Regions from separate parts of the Homo sapiens genome. Here region 2 is linked to region 1. The links are contacts of gene promoters, found by promoter capture Hi-C in human tissues and cell types (Jung and others, 2019). All regions are on one chromosome and are shown on one strand. Each heading gives the region's core, a stretch centred on a gene start or on the middle of the fragment in contact. The rest is flanking DNA. Distances are from core to core; before and after follow the strand shown. Region 1 holds the start of IL18BP (interleukin 18 binding protein). Region 2 has its middle 62 kb from the start of LINC01537.

What was found. Contacts are between HindIII fragments. The study calls those that stand out against the background at their distance.
Region 2: a contact is called between a fragment that was not itself captured here and the fragment with the promoter of IL18BP in region 1, in 2 of the 25 tissues and cell types used here (dorsolateral prefrontal cortex and hippocampus).

The regions. Positions count from the first base shown.
Region 1 is chr11:71,997,398-72,001,299 of GRCh38, reverse strand. IL18BP (interleukin 18 binding protein) reads right to left here and starts at 2,391. Exons shown (of 6, transcript NM_001039660.2): 1 at 2,281-2,391; 2 at 1,288-1,373; 3 at 743-949; 4 at 1-99. The coding sequence starts at 1,315. It overlaps RNF121 (ring finger protein 121), which reads right to left. Exons shown (of 9, transcript NM_018320.5): 9 at 3,703-3,902. The HindIII fragment of the contact is 6,503 bases long and covers 1,721-3,902 here.
Region 2 is chr11:72,506,404-72,510,111 of GRCh38, reverse strand. No RefSeq gene overlaps it. Among named protein-coding and RNA genes, the nearest start is that of LINC01537, 62 kb to the left of the region's middle. The HindIII fragment of the contact is 8,278 bases long and covers 1-3,708 here.

The DNA of each region.
Region 1 (3,902 bases), core at 1,142-3,641:
CTGGGAGGTGCTCAATGAAGGAACCATTGCCCAGCCAGTAGAGGATGCTGAAGTTGGGGAAGCGGCTGCAGGCCACACAGGATAAGCTCAGCGTTCCATCTAGGGACACAGGCAGCAGTTAGCTCTTCAGAAGAGCAGGCCCTTCCCCTACCCTGCTCTGCTGTGCCCTCCCTGCCAGCTCCCCCCAGTCCCCATGCATCTGGAACCTAGAGAACTGCTCTGCACACCACCTAGGTGGGAACGTCCGTTACAGAAGTGCAGTTGTCTCCGAGAGGCCCTAGCCCTAAACACGGGGAATGTGAGGAATGGTCCTTGGTTCACGTGATGAATCCTCTTCTGAACCTGTCTCCTCAGGATGACCTTTTCTAGTGCCCAGCCTCGGTGACTTGGGAGCCCAGGTGACAAAGGCAGTGCTGGATGGCTGCTGCTCCTCTGAGATGGCCAGAGGCCAGCAGGCTCTGGGTGGAGGGGCTGGCCTTGGGGTCCACTGCAACCAAGGCTCTGGGAGGTCCTGTGACCATTACTTATGTCTTGAGTTCTCTGTCCTATTTGATAGGGAGCATCTTGGGAGCTGCGCCAAGCCTGCACCCATGACACTGGGTTGGGGAGGGAGAATGGTGCGTGCTCAGCCCAGCTGGCTCAGCTGGTGGTACATGGGCAGAAGGGGACTGGCGCTCAGGAGTCAACCCGACCCTGGGAACCTCTGTGCCCATAGCCCACCCTCCACCACTGTGCTTCTTACTCAGTGGCACTTCCACCTCTGGCCAGGTCACTTCCAATGCTGGACACTGCTTAGCTGCTGGGAACACTGGGGGCTGGGAGGGGCAGGGGTCCTTTGTGCTTCTAACTGAGGCAGTGGCAGCTGTGGTGGTCTGCGAGACAGGTGTGGCTCTGACCAGGAGAGTGACGACGTGGGCACACAGGAGCAGGACCCACAAAGGGCTGAGGTCTGAGGAAAGGACAGTTACAGGTCAGCGGCTCTGGAGACAGAGTGGGCTGCCCGGGTAAGGATGTAACTCCAGCCCAGAGATGTCTGGGTTCTAGCCAGGGAATCAGAGCGGGAAGAGGGACCCCTCAGCACCCACCCCTTAGCCCTTTATTGAACAGAGTACAGAGAAGCTTTAGACTGGAGCCAGAGCTACAATATCTGCCCAGGTTCTTAAAGCAACAGCACCAGGTGCGCTGGGTGGTTTGCCTTGGAGTGAAGGCTCCGGGTTAGCCCATTGCTCCATTCTGTTCATAGACCTCACCCTACCCCGCCTGCCCATGCGTAGCCCCAAGGCCTACCTGGTGTCCAGTTGTGTCTCATGGTCATGATGCATGCGTCAGGAGCTGGTGAGCCTGGCTCTTTATCTGTGACAACGTCCTCTTCTCTGGTGAAAGGTGGGGGAGGAGAATGGTAAACCACTCCCGCTTTTTCTCAGTAGCTGGCTTTTCCTCAGTAGCTGGCTTCTCCTCCCGTAGCATAGCCTGGAGCTCTTTCAGCACTTAGAAACAGAGCTGGGGGGGTCAAGTGACAATCCTTCCCCACCCCAGCTCTCATGACCACAAATGGTTGTAAGATGCTTACCTAGTCCAATCTTACCCCTTCATTAGGGAAGGCAAAATTGAGACCCAAAGAGAGAATATGGACTCACCCAGTCACACAGGGAGGCAGTGCTCTCTTCAGCACCAGAGCTGCTTCTGGGAAGGGCAGGATGCCGAGCAATCCTTCTGGGAAAGCACTGCCCCGACCCTCTATTTCACTTTCACTTTTTAACCAGGGAATCTTGAGCAGCTGTGACACCTCTGCTTTAGCCAAAGTTCAGTGGCCAGAAACCTTCAGCTCCTGGGACTCCTACTCTCCAGAGGATACCAGACTGGGATCTCTAATCTACCCCCATGCCACCCCCAGGGTCACCTAGGGTATGAACTAGATGAGTCTCTCACAGATCAATTCTGTCCCGCCCAAGTGTCAGGACTTTGGTGTCCGCCTCCCCTCTTCACAGCCAGGTCTTTGTTTCCATATGAACAGGCATCTGCTTCCTCCTTCACCTTCACACTGACATTCAAGGGGACAACTTTCCTAGGCACTGGGGAACCCCAAGTTGGACCACTTCAGGCTCAATGCCATACCAGTCCGTCCACATCCTGGCCTTTCCCAGGCTACCCACTCCCCCAGCCACCAGCCCCAAGGTCGGCTACATCTCCCAGCACCCACCATCACACCCTCTGTCTCTCATCCTAGCCCCTCTGGCCAGAGCCACAGGTCTAGGTTCACTAGTAGTCCCAGACTCCTACCTGGCTCCTAAGAGGTCCTGAAGAGCCTTCCTTTCCAGAAGCTTCCCTCTAGGAGCTCCAAGACTCAAGTTAGCTGTGTCTAGCTGCGTGTGAACCCACCACAGGAAATACACCGAGAGCACTTCCTCCTTGTCTGTAGAACTCTCACGGCCAACCCAGGAACTGGCACACAAGCTCGAGAGCCAACCCTAACAGGAGGGAAGGGCAGGCACTTCCCGGGGAAGAGGCGGACTGGCTCAACACTGGCTCTGGCAACAGAGTCTACATCAGAATATGAATCTTGTCACTGATGGGACAAATGGCGCTGGGGCTGCGGGAGGGCCAGGATTCAGGGTGAGGCGTGTGAGGAACCTAGGATGCTAAATCTAAGGAGGTTTTCTCTCAGGGTCATGCAGTTATCCATGGAGGCAGAAAGACCAGGGCTGGGTGATCCAATGCATGCATATATTAAGTGTGGACAGGAGCTGCATGTCTGAGGTTTGTGACTCCTGTGATTGGGAGGGTGCAACGGCTGGTGACAGAGCCAGGGAGGCCCACAGATGGAACTGGGTTTGGTGGATGCATCAGGAACACAGTCAGCTGTGATCTCAAACTTCTTGTAGAAAAACCAGATTCATATTCCTAATTTAGACATAGGATACTACAAGTCACATCCTTCTTCTCTAGGTGTCTAGTTCATGTTTTTCCTCCTCTCAATTCCTCCCCCTACCTCCTGCCCCAGGGGCTTCTAGCATGTAAGATGCAGGAGAAATTCCTCCCAAGAACACCAGCATCTCCAGGAGTTAGGTCAGGAGGCAAGGCTGCCTGGGGTTTCTGAGAGAGACAGTCCAGTGGGGGATGGTAGGGAAAGATGACAGGACTCTGTCTTAGTGGAACCGAGACCAGAGTCAGGCCAAGGGGGGAGGTCAAGGGACTCAGAACTGTTACACATGAAAAGAGCTTTGGACAGCCTGGCCTCGGCTTCTCACCTGAGCCTGACAGGGGGGTGGGGGGAAAAAGTAAAAGGAAGGGTGATCCCTAGGTCCTCTGACCAGCCCCATTCCCCTCTCTGAGGAGGGGAACAGCCCCACAGGTGGCATAAGCAGCAGGGTACCATGGGAAGCCACAGCTGGGGAAGAGAAGCCGAGCCTGAGTGTGGTCCTCAGGAAGGCAGGTGGTGGCGGGACACTGTCCTCAGGCAGTGAGAACATAGAGCAACCTCAGTCTGAAGGCAGGCCCAATGATGCCCCAGGCCCCCAGGCCACAGGACAGGAGCCTGGCATTCCACCACTCCTAGGGATGTCAGCAGGGGAACAGCTGGGAACAGCAGAAAGGCAGGCCCAACCACCCCCAGACCCTCAGGTCTCCGATGGGGGTTAACAAAGGCAAGACACCCCTGGGGACCCCAGGGAAAGAGGTGGGAAGAAGAAAGCAAGATAAATGTTCAGCTTTCCAACCCAGCTCATGGAGCTTTATTCAGACGGGAGTGACAACATCCTGCTTCGTTCTTGCTGCCCTTGAAGGGGCAGGCCCTACTGAGCCATATTCCCTAGAAACCCAATGCCGAAGGCCCATGTTTGACCTCCCACTTTATTCAAGTCGCCTAGGACTAGGGCTGGGGCCTTCCTAGAAGCCCCCTCTCA
Region 2 (3,708 bases), core at 299-2,798, 510 kb before region 1:
CAAAAAATTCTATCCAAAGGACAGCAACTTCAAAGATTGAAGGAATATCAGCCCACATAAACGAGAAAGAACCAGTGCAAGAACTCTGGCAAGTCAAAAAGCCAAAATGTCCTCTTACCTCCAAATAATGGCACTACTTCCCCAGGAATGGTTCTTAATTAGGCTGAAATGACAGATACAGAATTCAGAACATGGATAGGAATGAAGATCATTGAGATTCAGGAGAAAGTCAGAACCCAATCCAAGGAATCTAAGGAATATAATAAAACAACACAGGAACTGAAAGATGAAATGGCCATTTGAAGAAAGAATCAAACTGATATGATTGAGCTGAAAACCTTACTTCAAGAATTTCATAATTACAAATATTGATAGCAGAATAAACCAAGCTGAGGAAAGAATCTCAGAGCTTGAAGGCCAGTCCTCCAATGTAACTCAGTCAGACAAAAGTGAAGAAATAAAAAAGAATGAACAAAATCTCTGAGAAAGATGGTATTATGTAAAGAGACCAAATCTATGACTCATTGGCATCCCTGAAAGAGAGGGAGAAAAAGCAAACAACTTGGAAAACATATCTGAAGATATCATTCTTGAAAATCTTTCCAACCTCGCTACAGAGGCCAACAGTCAAATTCAGGAAATGCAGAGAACCCCTGTGAGGTACTGTATAAGATGACCATCCCTAAGACACATAGTCATCAGATTCTCCAAAGTTGAAATGAAAGAAAAAATGTTTAAGGCAGCTAGAGAGAAAGGGCAGGTCATCAACAAAGGGAACCTCATCAGGCTAACAGTGAACCTGTCAGTAGAAACTCTACAAGCCAGAAGAGATTGGTGGCCTATATTCAGCATTCTTTTATATATTTATTTATTTTTTGAGATGGAGTCTTGCATTGTTGCCCAGGCTGGAGTGCAGTGGTGTAATCTCGGCTCACTGCAAGCTCTGCCTGCTGGGTTCACACCATTCTCCTGCCTCAGCCTCCCAAGTAGCTGGGACTACAGGCGCCTGCCACCACACCCGGCTAATTTTTTGTATTTTTAGTGGAGACGGATTTCACCATGCTAGCCAGGATGGTCTCGATCTCCTGACGTCATGATCTGCCCACCTCGGCCTCCCAAAGTGCTGGGATTACAGGCATGAGCCATCGTGCCCGGCCTATTCAGCATTCTTAAAGAAAAGAAATTCCAACCAAGAATTTCATATCCAGCTAATGTAGTTTGGATATTTGTCCCTGCCCAAATCTCATGTTGAATTGTAATCCCCAATGCTGTAAGTGGGGCCTGGTGGGAGGGGTTTTGGTCATGGGGGTGGATCCCTCACGGCTTGGTGGTGTCTTTGCAATAGTGAGTTCTTGCCAAGATCTGGCCATTTAAAAGTGGACCTCCCCCTACACTCTCACTTGTTCCTGCTTTCACCATGTGACCTGCCTGTTCCCCTTTCACCTTCCACCGTGATTGAATGCTCCTCAACAGTTCAACAGAGCCAAGCAGATACCAGCACCATCCTTTCTGTAAAACCTGCAGAACTATGAGCCAATGAAACCTCTTTTCTTTATAAGTGACCCAGTCTCAGGTATTTCTTTATAGCAATGCAAGAATGGCCTAATACAGAAAATTGTTACTGAGGAGTGAGGCCTTGCTATAAAGATACCTGAAAACATGGAAGCAGCTTTGGAAATGGGTAACAGGCAGAGGTTGGAAGAGTTTGGAGGGCTCAGAAAAAGAGAGGAAGACCAAGGGAAGTCCAGAACTTCTTAGAGACTGGTTAAATGATTGTGACCAAAATGCTGATAGTGAGACAGCCAGGTGGGAGGGAGTCCCTGGAGAAACTCCAACCAGCCTGCCCACTGAGGTGGAGCCTCAGGAAGTTCATGACCTTTGCAGCAGGGAGGAGCCTGGTGCCTCCTCTTCCTGTGTGGAACCTGGGATTCAATCACCCGGGCAGGAAGCACTCTAGTGGAGGGACTCTGGCCTAGTGAGAGTCCCTGTTTCCCCCTTTTCTTCCTTTTAACCCAGTAAAACCCTGCTTCACTCACCCTTCAAATCATCTACGAGCCTAAATTTTTGTGGCTGTGGGATGGACAAGGACCCCATCTTTCACTCAATTAAGGAAAAGTCTTACAACAATAGTAATATGGATGATGAAGTCCAGGCTTATGAGGTCTCAGATGGAAATGAGAAACGTATTGGGAACTGGAGCAAAGGTCATGTGTGTTATGCCTTAGCAAAAAACTTGTCTCCATTTTGTCCATGTCCTAAGGATCTGTGGAAGTTTAAACTAAAGAGTGATGATTTAGGGCAAGGGTATCCAATCTTTTGGCTTCCCTGGGCCACAGTGGAAGAAGAATTGTTCTTGGACCATACATAAAATACACTAACACTAACGATAGCTGATGAGCTAGAAAAAAAAAATCACAAAAAACTCACAATGTTTTAAGAAAGTTTATGAATTTGTATTGGGCTTCACTCAAAGTCATTCTGGGTCACATGCGGCCAGCAGGCTGCAGGTTGGACAAACTTGATTTAGGGTATTTGGCAGAAGAAATTTCTAAGCAGCAAAGTGTTCAAGATGTGGCCTGGCTGCTTTGAACAACCTACACTCAGATTTGAGAGAAAAGAAAAGACTTAAGTTTGGAGTTTATATTTAGACAGGAAGCAGAGCATAAAAGTTTGGGAAATTTGAAGGTTGGCCATGTAGCAGAGAAAGAAAAAGCTTTTCTGGGAGAGGAATTGTAGCAGGCAGCAGAACACCCATTTGCTACAGAAATTTGCATAACTAAAAGGGATCCAAGTGCTGGTAACCAAGACAATGGGAAAAAGACCGCAAAGGCATTTCAGAGATCTAAGAGGTAGCACCTCTCACCACAGGCTCTGAGGCCTAGGAGGAAAGAATGGTTTCGGGGGCCAAGGCTCCACTTCCCTGCATAACCTCAGGATTCTGTTCCCTGCATCCAGGACACTCCAGCTCCAGCCTCAGCTCAAAAGGCCCCAGATACAGCTCATGCTGTTGCTTCAGAGGGTGCAAGCCATAAGCCTTGGTGGCTTTCATATGGTGTTAAGCCTTTAGATGCACAGAGTGCAAGAGTGATTGAGGCTTGGCATCACTGCCTAGATTTCGGATGATGTATGGAAAAGCCTGGGCACCTAGGCAGAAGCCTGCTGCAAGTGGAGAGTCCTCACAGAAAACCTCTACTATGGCAGTGTGGAGAAAAAATGTAGGGTTGAAGCTCCCACACGGGGTCCCCACTGGGGCACTGCCTAGTGGAGCTATGGGAAGGGGGCCACCATCTCCTAGACCCCAGAACAGTAGATCCATCAGCAGCTTGCTCTCTGCACCCCAAGAAAATCCACAAGCACTCAACTCCAACCTGTGAGGATAGCCACAGGGGCTGATCCCTGCAAAGCTTCAGAGGCAGAGCTGTCCAAGGCTTTGGGAATCTACCCCTCACAGCAGTGTGCCCTTGTTGTGGGACATAGAGTCAAAGGAGATTATTTTGGACATTTAAGATTTAATGACTATCCTGCTGGGTTTTAAATATGCATTGGGCCTGTTACTCCTTTCTTTTAACCAATTGCTCCTTTTTGAAATAGGAATGTTTACACAATGCCCATACACCCGCTGTATTTTGGAAGTCACTAATTTGTGTTTGATTTTACGGGCTTATAGGTGGGAGAGGCTTGCCTTGTCTCAGATGAGACTTTGGACTT